3 separate regions of the Homo sapiens genome follow, and regions 1 and 3 are each linked to region 2. Evidence: promoter capture Hi-C in 16 types of primary human blood cells and fetal thymus (Javierre and others, 2016). All regions are on one chromosome and are shown on one strand. Each heading gives the region's core, a stretch centred on a gene start or on the middle of the fragment in contact. The rest is flanking DNA. Distances are from core to core; before and after follow the strand shown.

The links. Contacts are between HindIII fragments. The CHiCAGO score rates a contact against its expected background, and 5 or more counts as called.
Region 1: a contact is called between a fragment that was not itself captured here and the fragment with the promoter of UBE4B in region 2, in 3 of 17 cell types (erythroblasts, monocytes and megakaryocytes). The highest score is 6.1, in erythroblasts.
Region 3: a contact is called between a fragment that was not itself captured here and the fragment with the promoter of UBE4B in region 2, in 2 of 17 cell types (endothelial precursors and megakaryocytes). The highest score is 8.5, in endothelial precursors.

Annotation. Positions count from the first base shown.
Region 1 is chr1:10,413,353-10,418,108 of GRCh38, forward strand. It overlaps PGD (phosphogluconate dehydrogenase), which reads left to right. Exons shown (of 13, transcript NM_002631.4): 9 at 3,635-3,765; 10 at 4,024-4,157. Among named protein-coding and RNA genes, the nearest start is that of CENPS, 15 kb to the right of the region's middle. The HindIII fragment of the contact is 991 bases long and covers 2,232-3,222 here.
Region 2 is chr1:10,031,627-10,036,085 of GRCh38, forward strand. UBE4B (ubiquitination factor E4B) reads left to right here and starts at 1,332. Exons shown (of 28, transcript NM_001105562.3): 1 at 1,332-2,068. The coding sequence starts at 2,045. RefSeq lists silencers at 950-1,339, 1,370-1,589 and enhancers at 1,104-1,758, 2,150-2,199. The HindIII fragment of the contact is 8,691 bases long and covers 1-2,518 here.
Region 3 is chr1:10,337,257-10,341,497 of GRCh38, forward strand. KIF1B (kinesin family member 1B) reads left to right here. Exons shown (of 49, transcript NM_001365951.3): 31 at 115-277; 32 at 2,513-2,603. Among named protein-coding and RNA genes, the nearest start is that of PGD, 60 kb to the right of the region's middle. The HindIII fragment of the contact is 1,089 bases long and covers 1,062-2,150 here.

The DNA.
Region 1 (4,756 bases), core at 1,477-3,976, 380 kb after region 2:
TTTAGCTTTCAGAGTGCCTTTTGCTCTTTCTTGCGTTGAAGAAACTGACAGTGTGAGAGAGGCTGACGCTGCTTTTGATTCTCTTCCTTGTAGTTCTTATCTCATTCGTACAAACTGTGAGGTAAATTCAGAAGTGACTGTCCTTCCTATCCAGTTTTATCTTTGGAATATTTTAGCATTAGTGATGTAATTGTAGTCAGTGATCTAAGATTTTATTTATGAGGCAGGTAACTTGAGTAAAATTTTTCATAGAAAAGTTCATGAATAACAGGGCCGGGCACAGTGGTTCACGCCTGTAATGCCAGCACTTTGGGAGGCCGAGGCGGGTGGATCATGAGGTCAGGAGATTGAGACCATCCTGGCTAACATGATGAAACCCTGTTTCTACTAAAAATACAAAAAATTAGCCAGGTGTGGTGGCACGTGCCTGTAGTCCCAGCCACTCAGGAGGCTGAGGCAGGAGAATTGCTTGAACCTGGGAGGCAGAGTTTGCAGTGAGCTGAGATGGCACCACTGCACTCCAGCCTGGGTGACAGAGCGAGACTTCGTCTCAAAAAAAAAAAAAAATTAGCAGGTGCCTGTAATCCCAGCTACTCAGGAGGTTGAGCCATGAGAATCGCTTGAACCCAGGAGGCAGAGGTTGCAGTGAGCCAAGATCATGCCACTGCACTCCAGCCTGGGCAACAGAATGAGACTCCATCCCCTCCAAAAAAAGTTTGCGAATAACATATGCTTGTGTACTCAGAAATTATTAAAAATTTACTTTTTTCCCCTAGATATTAAAAAGATAAAAATTACCTATCCATTTGAGTCCTCGTTGTTTTGCTAAGTTCCTTCTCCTTCCTCTTTTAGAAGAAAGCCACTATCCTGAAGTTGGTGTGTATCCTGCCCACTTGTTTTATATCTTACATTAGTGAGCTAAGCATCAAACTCAGAAAGATAAGGAAATAATATAAAGAAATAAACATAAAACGAGAGGGGATTAACAATATCAAAATCTTGGCCGGGGGGGTGGTTTTCAGTGTGTTTGTTTGTTTTTTGAGACGGTGTTGTGCTCTGTCACCCAGGCTGGAGTTCAGTGGCATGATCTCGGGTCACTGCAACCTCCACCTCCCGGGTTCAAGTGATTCTCCTGCCTCAGCCTCCCGAGTAGCTGGGATTACAGGCATGCGCTACCATGCCTGGCTAATTTTTGTGTGTTATTAGTGGAGACGGGGTTTTACCATATTGGTCAGGCTGGTCTCGAACTCCTAACCTCAGGGGATCTGCCCGCCTCGGCTTCCAAAAGTGCTGGGATTGCAGGCGTGAGCCACCATGCCCAGCAAAGGTGGTTCTAAGAGTAAAATACATAGACTTCTGGCAGGAATGAAAAAGGAGAACGAAGGATGCCTCTCGTGGTTAATGAGAGGCTGATCTTTGCTTCTGGCAGATTGTTCTCACTATATTAAAACAGAATTGGGCCAGGCGCGGTGGCTCACGCCTGTAATCCCAGCACTTTGGGTGACCGAGGTGGGCGGATCACGAGGTCAGGAGTTTGAGTCCAGCCTGACCAACATGGCGAAACCCCATCTCTACTAAAAATACGAAAGTTAGCCAGGCATAGTGACCCGTGCCTGTAATCCCAGCTACTCAGGAGGCTGAGGCAGGAGAATCACTTGAACCTGGGAGGCGGAATTTGCAGTGGGCTGAGATCGCACCACTGCACTCCAGGCTGGGCGACCGAGCAAGACTCCGCCTAAAAAAAAAAAAAGAAGCATCTCAAAAATAATAAAACAGAATTTTTCCTGTTTGCTCCTCTGGATACAGGTTGCCTTTCTCTCCCTTGACTCTTCTCCCCTTTTGACCTCCCTGTTCATTGTGCCTCGCCCTATTGAACTGTGTGGTGTAAGGCAGAGTAAGGAGGAAAGTCGGTGGTTTCTACAGTTCCGTGCTGTATAGAAGGAAGTTGGCTGCTTTTAGCCGATCTGAGCCATAACATAGGTGAGGAGGGAGGGGCCAATAGCTAGGAGCAATTTATTCATCACGGACTCAAGTATATGTGTAAGTATTAGGATCTCAGAATCCTACTCTCCTCCTGTGGATCCATATACCTCTTCCCCCAGGGTGGCTGGGCCCACCCCCTGCTGGGAGCCATCATTATTTGTGAACTAACAGGGAAGTCTTCCAGCTGCCCTCTCCCCCTCTAACAGGAAGGGTTTGCCTCATAGCCTGTTGCACCAGTCATCTTACAAAGCTTCCTTCTAGAAATGCTAAGTCATCCTGTGTGTGCATTTGGGCCAGGAGAGAGGTAGCTGCTTTTGTGTGTTTGGAGTAGGGTTAGCAGTCTCAAGCCATAGCTGCTCCTCTTTCCTCAGAAATAAAGTCCTCTGTTAGTTCCCTGAGATTTTACTTCATTTTGTCTATGGGGGAAAAAGTGGTTAAAGAGTCATTTATTCTAACTATAAGTTGTCAGTTGAGCAAGTCTTTTATAAGGAATACTTTCTGAAAATACTAAATGTCTTAATATTAAAATACTACATTGACTTTTTAATTCAAATGAAGTAAAGTGGTTAAACTTGAATGATTACGGCTATACTGAAAACCGTAAAATATAAAAACCTAACATTTTTTTGAGAGGTGAGTCCGTAAATGTGACTTATCAATGTAAAATCTTCAAAAAAAAAAATTAAGGTCCTCTAAATTGAATTTGAAATTTTACTCATGGACCAACACTGAGTATTCTACATAACAGTGGTTTTTATTTTATTTTACTGGTTTTAGAGACAGGGTCTCACTGTGTTGCCCAGGCTGGAGAGCAGTGGTGTGATCATGGCTCACTGTAGCCTTGAACTCCTGGGCTCAAGTGATCCTCCCACCTCAGCCTGCCAAAGTGCTGGGATTACAGGTGTTAGCCACCTTGCCCAGCCATAACAGTGGTTTCTATCTCTTCATTTTCCCTCAAAACTCCCTTTTGAATTTCATGTTAATCTTTGTGATTGAATACTCATGTTTGTATTGGAAGATTGTCTTAAGAGTTTTAGTTATCAAATTAACTGTTTAGAGCTTCTTATAAAAGTTCCTTCCGATCCATGTCAACTTTTGTGGCCTAAGGTTGAAACTTTCAGCTCTTTGTATAAACAGACTTTCCTGCTCCACCTTTCTTCTGGTTGCTGTGCGAACTTTGGTAATTTTCATGCGCATCCGTGTGAAAAGACCACCAAACAGGCTTTGTGTGAGCAATAAAGCTTTTTAATCACCTGGGTGCAGGCAGGTTGAGTCCGAAGAGTCAGCGAAGGGAGATAGGGGTGGGGCCATTTTATAGGATTTGGGCAGGTAGTGGAAAATTACAGTCAAAGGGGGTTTTTCTCTTACGGGCAGGGCCGAGGGGTCACAAGGTGCTCAGTTGGGGAGGTTCTGAGCCAGGAGAAGGAATGTCACAAGGTTAATCGCTCAGTTAAGGTGGGGCAGGAACAAATCACAATGGTGGAATGTCATCAGTAAAGGCAGGAACCAGCCATTTTCACTTCTTTTGTGATTCTTCACTTGCTTCAGGCCATCTGGATGTATACATGCAGGTCACAGGGGATATGATAGTTTAGCTTGGGCTCAGAGGCCTGACAGTAATCTGTTTCCTCTTCCCGATCTCCCCATGTAGGAGAAGCTGTCTTTGCTCGGTGCTTATCATCTCTGAAGGATGAGAGAATTCAAGCTAGCAAAAAGCTGAAGGGTCCCCAGAAGTTCCAGTTTGATGGTGATAAGAAATCATTCCTGGAGGACATTCGGAAGGTGGGACACAGTCCCTGGCAGTGGTCTTTGTTGGTCCTGCGGAAGGCAGTGGGGGTGGGGGTTGTGGTGGGAGAACACTCGAGGCCACAGGATGGCAGGTGGAATGAAGTTCAGCCTTGACTTGGATCTTGACTTACAATGTTTTCCTAGAATATTGGCCCTTCTGGGATCTCCACTGCTGATGAGAATAAGACTGGTAGACATAAGGCGGTCACTCTCCTAATGGCAATCCTAGTAGGTCTCTGTGTCACTCTTTAGGCACTCTACGCTTCCAAGATCATCTCTTACGCTCAAGGCTTTATGCTGCTAAGGCAGGCAGCCACCGAGTTTGGCTGGACTCTCAATTATGGTGGCATCGCCCTGATGTGGAGAGGGGGCTGCATCATTAGAAGGTAAGTGAGAGGCAGCCCAGGGTCCGACGGGAAGGACTCACACGGCTGTGCAGAAGTGCGATCTTAGGACACTTAGCTTGAGCAGTTTCCAGGGATGGGCACTTAGCCCCATCACTGGACACTGGCACAAGATAGGCTTAGATTATGTGGTTCCCTTCTTCACTGTACCTCAGTTGCTGTAACTAGATTGTCCACACTACACCTTTTTTTTTCTTTTGAGACCAAGTTTCGCTCTTATTGCCCAAACTGGAGTGCCATGATGCGATCTTGACTCACTGCAACCTCTGCCTCCCGGGTTCAAGTGATTCTCCTGCCTCAGCGTCCTAAGTAACTGGGATTACAAGGGCACGCCACCATGTCCGGCTAATTCTTTTGTATTTGTAGTGGAAACAGGGTTTCACCATGTTAGCCAGGCTGGTCTCGAACTCCTTGCCTTGGGTGATCTGCCCGCCTCAGCCTCCCAAAGTGCTGGGATTACAGGCGTGAGCCACTGCGCCCGGCTCCGCATTACACCTACTACACTACACCTTTTAAAGTACTTCTGTGAACTATCGTGCCCTCTGGCCTTGCCTCTTGGGAATTTTGCTCTGTATTTTCAT
Region 2 (4,459 bases), core at 82-2,581:
AAGCCAGCAGTGATTTATTTTTACTCACAAATTCCTTACATATTTTTACTCACAAATTCCTTACATATCTAGTAGTCAGGTTCCTATTTTAAGCATGTAGCAAATACATTGTAACTCTTAATTCTGGAATGCAGTCTTTATGGCTTAGTGAGCCATCCAATCCACTTATAGTCTTCGTCAGCGGCAAAATCTGGAATTTCATGGTACTGTTACTTTGATCGCTCAACTTAGATTTATATTTTATAAATATATATATACATACATATATATATATTTTTTGAGATGGAGTCGCGCTCTGTCGCCCAGGCTGGAGTGCAGTGGCGCGATCTCGGCTCACTGCAAGCTCCGCCTCCCGGGTTCACGCCATTCTCCTGCCTCAGCCTCCCGAGTAGCCGGGACTACAGGCGCCCGCCGCCACATCTGGCTGATTTTTTGTATTTTTTAGTAGAGACGGGGTTTCACCGTGTTAGCCAGGATGGTCTCGATCTCCTGACCTCGTGATCCGCCCGCCTCGGCCTCCCAAAGTGCTGGGATTACAGGCGTGAGCCACCGCGCCCGGCCAAATATTTGTATTCTTGTGCACCGGAGGATGGTTTTCCCCCACTGACTCCAAACGTCTTCCTTGCATTTGCTGTGTACAATTCAGTGATTTGGGTCTCTCATCCATTTATACTTTCAAATTTTACCAATACTTTTTGAACACACTTAAAAAAAAAAAAACCCAGGAAGTATCTCTAAAAGGCCAAGGTAAAATAAAATGAATGGGAGTTCTTGTGTTCGAGTTTTCTTCCAACTGGGCTTTCCTGGAGGAGGTGGAAGAGTGTGTGGCAGATGTTTCAGAAAATGAGCGCTCAATACGGTAGATCACGCTCCCGGGGTCAAGGAGACGTTTTCCGTTTTCTTTTCCCTCGCTTAGGCGGCGGGCGCGCACAGTCCAGTGGGAGCGATGAGGTGTTTCTAGGCCCCCAAGTCACAGAAAAGCAGGCGATTGGGAACAACGGAGGCGCGGCGGGCCCCCGGGCCGCGGGCCAGCGCCACCTTCTGGTGGATCTTCCCCGACGCGAGTCTGGGAGTCGTCCCTCCCCTTGCCAGCCTACCTGGCTCAGGCCCGCCGCGCCCGCAGCCCCAGCGCGGTCGCCGTGGCAACGCCCCGCCCAGCCGCCAGCCTCCCTTTGCCCCTCCCCACGTCCGGCGCGGCTGCGCGGGACGGGGTGGGACGGAGGCGGGGAGAGGACGCAGGCGAGAGGAACTCGGCGGCGCGGCGCCCGCGGCCTATTGGCTGCCACGTCCCGGCGCCAGAAGCCCCGCCTCCCTGACGGGGGTCACGTGATCCCTTTCAAAGATGGCCGCCCTGTTGTTTTGATGAATAATACTTGGTGGGGCGAGGGGGAAAGAGTAGGGGTGGAGGGGTAGGAGGATTTACTCTTCCAGCGAGAGCTACGCGCATCCCATCCTCCCCCTCCCCCCTACCCGGGCTCCGGCGTGGAGGCGGGGCGTGGCCGGCCTGCTTTGGGAGGGGAGGGGCTTCCCTTACAGTGCTGGGCTCTGCCAGGACGGCTGTGGGGTCGCCTTACCTCGGGGTATCCACTCTGCAGTCGACCAGTTCCCGCCAGGAGCAAAGGGTAGGAAGGAGAGCAGGATCTGCTGTAGGAACGCAGCTACCGCGCCACTATCACGAAGAAACAGCAGGCTCGGGGCACGAGACGAACTGGAGACCGCGCTGCCTAGCTGGGTAACCTGGGAAGCAGAGGGTAATAAGTGGCGCCTTAAGACAACCCTGTAGCAGCAGCAGTGGCGGCCAAAGGAGGCTGCTCAGGGAACAAGCGGCTGTAGTAGTCTGTGGGGCGACTGGAGTGACCGAAGCCAAGGCAGTTTAGTGCCTCTCGTGTTCTTATTTTTTAACCTCTGACTATGCAATTCTGAAACCTCCCCCATTCGGGGGACCAGACAGCCTGATAGACACCTTCCACTCTCCTTCCTCCCGCCGTGGTCTCGAGAACAGAAGGATCTCTCCTTAACGCCTTTCACCATTAAGAGGAAAGCGATGGAGGAGCTGAGCGCTGATGAGGTGAGGAGGTTGGGGGACACCTTGAGGGATTAGTTGGCAACTCGTTAGCGCTTTGGACAGGGATGGTATTGCGCCAGTGCTGTCTGGCCTTTGGGCTTGGAGAAGGAACGGAGATGATATTTTCCAAGAATAACGTGACTCCCCGATAGGGTCTCTGGTTTTGTTCTCCTTTATTCTGTTGCCTTCTTTCTTCATTCTGAACTCCATTTGCTTCTTTCCGAGTGTTCTTTTAGGGTATGAACAAGAGGAGAGAGCATCTTGAGGTGTTTATTCTTTTCTTCAGGGTATGCGAACAAGAAGGGCGAGATTTACATGAAGTTAAAGTGTGTGTGTGTCTGTGTCTTCAGGAATTTAAAGAACAATTTTGGATGGAATGAGAATGTATGGTGGGTGAATATTTTTAAAGAAAGCATTTGAAATTCCAGATATGTGTGGTTATTGCACTGTATAAGCTTGATTAAACATATATTTTTGCTTGAGGGGTGGTTTACAGACAGATTCTTTGATATTTAACAAAATATGTATCTTCTCCACAGTTTAGAGAATTCCAGTTATATTCTGGTACTTAATAGACCACTAATGACTTCTGGCATTCTTCTGTTACATTCTATCTTTTCCTACTTCTTGAATCTTTCAAACTTGTGTTTTGCTGTAGCAGAGACTGAACGGGAAGCAAGTGGAAGCAAATGACTTTCTAAACTCTCTCCTGTTCTCATTTCTTAAAGGAGTTATACAGATCTACTTCTTGATGTTTTAAAGATTGTTTAATAAATTAGGTTGTTGTAAAAAAAAAAACAACCAAAAAGCAGTGGCAATTAGGGTACAAGGAATTTCCTATGATTCTACTGCCTTTTCTCTTCCTTTTTGCAAATTAGGAGCTTCCCTTTCAGGACCCCTACTGGCCATACCCTCTTTAGCCTACCTCCACATTTCTTCACTGGTTCATCATGTAAACTTCCCTACAGTATTAGGAAAGCAGTCATCCATCAAGTTGATTGTACTACAAGACTTCCATGCTCCAGTTTTAGCTACAGAGTACTTAGTGTGTTTACTTAGGGACTGAAATTCTCCTGGGATAGGACACGCAGTGGTGTGTTAAGGGTCAGGTAGGAAAGGAAGCAAATGATTTTGTTGATTGTGATACTTGGATACTTGGTTTGGAAAATCAGGACTGCCCATTCGGCGTTACTTTGTTTTTTTCGAATACAGCAGAAATGTAATCTTAAGTGAAGAGAATATTACACAGTTTCTTTCATTCGGTAGGAAATCTCCTTAGAATCGCTTTATTTTATGTGGGTTTTTTTTTGTTTGTTTGTTTTTTTGAGACGGAGTCTTGCTCTGTCGCCCAGGCTGCAGTGCAGTGGCGCGATCTCGTCTCACTGCAAGCTCCGCCTCCCGGGTTCACACCATTCTCCTGCCTCAGCCCCCTGAGTAGCTGGGACTACAGGCGCCCGCTACCACGCCCGGCTATTTTTTGTATTTTTAGTAGAGATGGGGTTTCACCATGTTGGCCAGGATGGTCTCCATCTCTTGACCTCGTGATGCACCCGCCTCAGCCTCCCAAAGTGCTGGGATTACAGGCGTGAGCCACCGCGCCTGGCCTGTTTTATGTGGTTTTTTAAAAGTTTCTCTACCTCCCCCGTTTTTCATTAATGTTAATTCTAGTGAGTAATTTCTCTTAAGGCAGAGATACTGTTTTTTTTTTTTTTTTTTTTTTTTTGAGGCGGAGTCTCGCTCTGTCGCCCAGGCTGGAGTGCAGTGGCGCTATCTCAGCTCACTGCAAGCTCTGCCTCCCGGGTTCACGCCATTCTCCTGCCTCAGACTCCGGAGTAGCTGGGACTACAAGCGCCCGCCACCACTCCCGGCTAGTTTTTTGTATTTTTTTGTGTTTTTAGTAGAGACGGGGTTTCACTGTGTTAGCCAGGATGGTCTCGATTTCCTGACCTTGTGATCTGCCCGCCTCGGCCTCCCAAAGTGCTGGGATTACAGGCGTGAGCCACCGTGACCGGCCAGAGATAGTTTTTTTATTTTTTTTTATTTTTTATTTATTTTATTTTATTTTTTTTGAGACGGAGCCTCGCTCTGTTGCCCAGGCTAGAGTGCAGTGGCGCGATCTCAGCTCACTGCAAAGCTCCGCTTCCCGGGTTCACGCCATTCTCCTGCCTCAGCCTCCCGAGTAGCTGGGACTACAGGCGCCCGCCACCACGCCCGGCTAATTTTTTGTGTTTTTAGTAGAGACGGGGTTTCACCGTGTTAGCCCAGGATGGTCTCAATCTCCTGACCTCGTGATCCGCCCGCCTCGGCCTTCCAAAGTGCTGGGATTACAGGTGTGAGCCACCGCGCCCGGCCGAGGTAGTTTTTTAGTAGTCCTTTACTCCTATAAATTACTTT
Region 3 (4,241 bases), core at 356-2,855, 310 kb after region 2:
TTGACCATTATCAAGGGACATAGTGGCCTTCATCAACTAGGAATGGAAAGCATGCCCAACTCCCTCCTCTTTGCATTATTTGAACCATCTGTGTCTTCATTTGACCCTCTTTAGATTTGAAGTCAAGCACTTTGCTGGATGGTAAGATGGTAATGGAAGGGTTTTCTGAAGAGATTGGCAACCACCTGAAACTGGGCAGTGCCTTCACTTTCCGAGTAACAGTGTTGCAGGCCAGTGGAATCCTCCCAGAGTATGCAGATATCTTCTGTCAGTTCAAGTAAGCTGCCCCTTTGCTCTGCCTCCCAGCTAGCTGCTAACCGAGGTGACATCTCTTGTGCACTGTAGAGTGCTTTACATGTGTGAGGGATTAACACTCTTGAGACAAAGACTGATCAGTCTCTGAAGGAAAATACTTTCATCACTCCTATGGGAGTGAGAACCAGAAACCTGTCCTGGAATGCAACAGGGTTCCCTGGCAGGAGGAGCATGCTGCACATCCTGCTGCAGGGCTCTGCTGTGAGCGGTCCCCCTTTACCAGGAATGTAGGGTCTGATCACATAAGCCTGTTGATGAGTCTTTCTAGTCCTCTTCATGTTGAAATGTCTTATTAATAAGCCTGAAAGCAATGACTTATCTAGCTAGCAATTACGCCTATTTAATACTCGGGAAAAGGAAAATTTAAACAATGTAAAGAAGGATAAATTCTACATCAACTGAAAAAAGCTAGTATGTAGGGAAGATGTGATACCTCTCATTTCTCATCTACATAGGACTTGCTCTTTCCCGCGGCCCTCTCAAACCCTGTGCTCTGGATGCTTTCTTCTCAAGACTGCCCCAGGAAAACATTTTTTTGTGAATCTTCAGTTTTAATACCTCCAAACTTCAATTTGTCTTTTCAGTACTTGGAAAGGGCCACAGTACAAGAGACTGAAGTGTGACCCCTCCATACCTACCGCCCTCAGTTTGCCACTGGTGCCACCAAGAGGCTGCTTTGGGTTCTGCCATCCCTCTCCCCTCAGAATGTGCCTTGGCCGTCCCATGGGTCCTAGTGCAGTTTATAAAGCTTTTGTATAGGTTTTATCACAGAAAATTGAGTCAAATGTGATTTAAATTAAATGTGATCACTATATAGTAAGCCACTAATATCATTTGCTACAAGTCATAGTTGTTGGAATATTACCCATTGAGCATTGATTTCACCTATTTAATGTGTTTTCACTCATACCCTCAAACTTAGGGCAGGATAGTGTTCACCAGATGAATCTGTTTTTTGGAACTGTTGCTATTATTCTAATCAGGCAACTGATACGTTTTATGGAAAACATCTATTTGGTTAACTGATGTCTGAAGTGACAATAATAGTGAGTTGACCTTTGTCCTACAATCTCCTAAAAAGAGCAGCATCTCTACCTGGTGTTAGCTCTGGGGAAAAGGGCATGTTGCTTCTGTTGAAAGCAGCCTCAAAGGCGTCCTGTGTTTTTATAGTCGCTCCTCTGGCCTGTGCCGGGAAGGTATGGCTGCAGAGCACTGTGAATGAGTTCACCTGTCGTCAGGGAACCCCAGGAATGCTGCGGTGCCAGCAATACAGGAATCAGGGATTTGGAGCACTTGGCAAAAGCATGCTAGTGTTCTCAGACGGGTGAACTAATTTGGAAGACAACAAGTTCATATTACCAGTCTGTCTGTCCCCCCAGTTGAAAATAGTTTCTTTTTCTCCATTTTTTCTTGATGGAAGGGGTGTCCTTCTGATGGATTTTTCTATCTGGCAGTAAATCTTTGTGTTGGGTCCTCTTTAACTGTGCAGTTCTTTTTATTTCAGACTAATAATAGGGAGAGAGAGAGAGAGAACGATAACATCTCACTATCTGTGAAAATAACTAAATATAGCCCATTGTTTTAACAAATCTTTCCAGAGTATCTTCTGTGTGTCGAGACCTGTGGGAAAACGCTTGCTGTCTGGGGGAGAGAGGCATATAAATACATTATTACAGTGAAATCATTGCTATTAAGGAAAAAAACATTACTAGTAATGTGGGAACACAAAGCTGCCAGGGTAAGTCAGGAAAGACTGCCTGGAAGAGGTGACATTTGAATCCACAACAGACTCTTATGTAACTATGCCATCCACAGGCTCTCGCACTAACTGTGGAAGCTTGAGTCTGCTAAATTTTGTCTGTACAAAATGACATTGTTTTTATTTTTAGTAAAAAGCTTTTACAAAGGAAGAGGAGTTAATTGAATGTACTTCTTCACTCTCTCTAAAGCATTCTTGCATATACCTCCATATAGCTAAGTGATCAGGGTCAGTTAATTTTTCAGTCATTTTTGAAATAAAATCTAAAATGCCCTCTGTGCAATATGGAAAAGGTTCTTGACAAGGAAAGTAAATAACTTAAAGAATCTGCTTAAGTGGAATGCTTCTTTCTGTAGGATCCACATTGGGCTCTTGAAAGAGATTCTGATAAAACCGTTTAATGCATTGTTCACGAGTCTTTTTATTTTTTTTATGAAGCTTTTTGCATCGCCATGATGAAGCATTCTCCACGGAGCCCCTCAAAAACAATGGCAGAGGAAGTCCCCTGGCCTTTTATCATGTGCAGAATGTAAGTGACATGGACCTTTTTGCCAAACATATGTTTTTCTGGTACCTTGGCTTTCTCAGCCCGGGAAGGGTGATAAGAAGAGGTACAAGTCACTGGCTGTGCAGGGGGAGAGTAGACAATAGAGGGCGTGGCTAGAGTGGTGAGGTCATCCACAGCGGCCTGAGCAGCAAGCCTTCTTGTCTGTGTTACAGTGGGCCTAGTGAATGTGGGTTCGTCTGCCAATAAAATCTTCCATCAGTTTGAATGCAATGAGTTGTTTTAGTGTTTCTGTCCTAGAAAAATAAGCATGCTTAATAAGAGTTTTATTAAAGTGAATGCATTGTCCTTTAAACCCTAAGATACTTATGTTGCTCGATTGCAAATAACATAAAAAATATCAAATACCTTCTGTAGCTAAATTAAGATTTAGATCTGTTTTCCTTGCAACTGATAGTATAATTAACACATTAATGCCCTTTACAACTGTATTCCTACGTGGAGTAAGAAAACAGACCCTTCCCTCTCTTACGTGAAATTTCATTCAAACTCTATTCCAAAGTCATTATCCTCATCACAATAGCTAATATTCACTGAGAGTTTATTTTGTGTTAGTCACTGTTCTGAGAGTTTTTGTGTAATTTAATCTTTACCTTTATACCATAGATTAAGATAATCCCTGTGTTAGCTGAGATGACTGAAGCATAGAGCAATTAAAGTCACTCATCAGGCTGGGCGCAGTGGCTCATACCTGTCCCGGCACTCTGGGAGGCCGAGGCAGGTGGATCACTTGAGGTCAGGAGTTTGTGACCAGCCTGGCCAACATGGTGAAATCCCATCTGAGACACGAGAATTGCTTGAACCCAGGATGGGGGGGTTGCAGTGAGTTGAGATTGTGCCACTGCACTCCAGCCTGGGCAAGAAAGCGAGACTCCCATCTCAAAAAAAATAAAAAAGTAATAATAAAAATAAAGTTACTCATCAGTGTTACAAGAGGCAGAGATAGGACTTAAGCTCAGAGAAATTTAGCTCTGGTATTCAGGATATTCACTACTACATGAAACTGTCTCTCATTCTCTTGCTAACCATGTCTGCTCTCTAAAGTAAGAGAGGAAAGGAGAACTTCAAAGATGGAACAAGCAAACACAAAATATGCCATCTTCTTTTTCATGTTGGTATAAATATAAGCAAGCATGTATCTGATAAACTTTGATCAGCTGCTGTGCACAAGGATTGTGCCTGACAACTGGGGAATGCAGATGAATCTCAGATGCTCCCAGTGAGCTTCGAATTACGATAGGGGAAATAAAATGCATACATAAACACCAGTCATGCAAAGATGAACATGAGAAAATATTCACTAAATGCAGTGGGAGTGGAGAAAGGGAAAGTTATTTCTATTAATGGAAAGCTATTTTAAGTTACTTTTTGTTGGGGAGGATAGTTGGGTGGAGAAAGGGGATAGGAAGCTCCCTGAAGGATGTAGTATAAGCAAGAAAAGGTGTGTCAAACTTGGCATTGTGCCTGGCACATAGGCCATAGTCAGTACATGCATGGATGTGCTGGAAGGGCCTTCCAGGCAGGGTTGCAGCCTGGGCCAGTCCTTGGCACAGCTGAGGAGAGAGCAGGTGAAAGGAGCAGCAGGTGAGTGAGTGAGCCAGA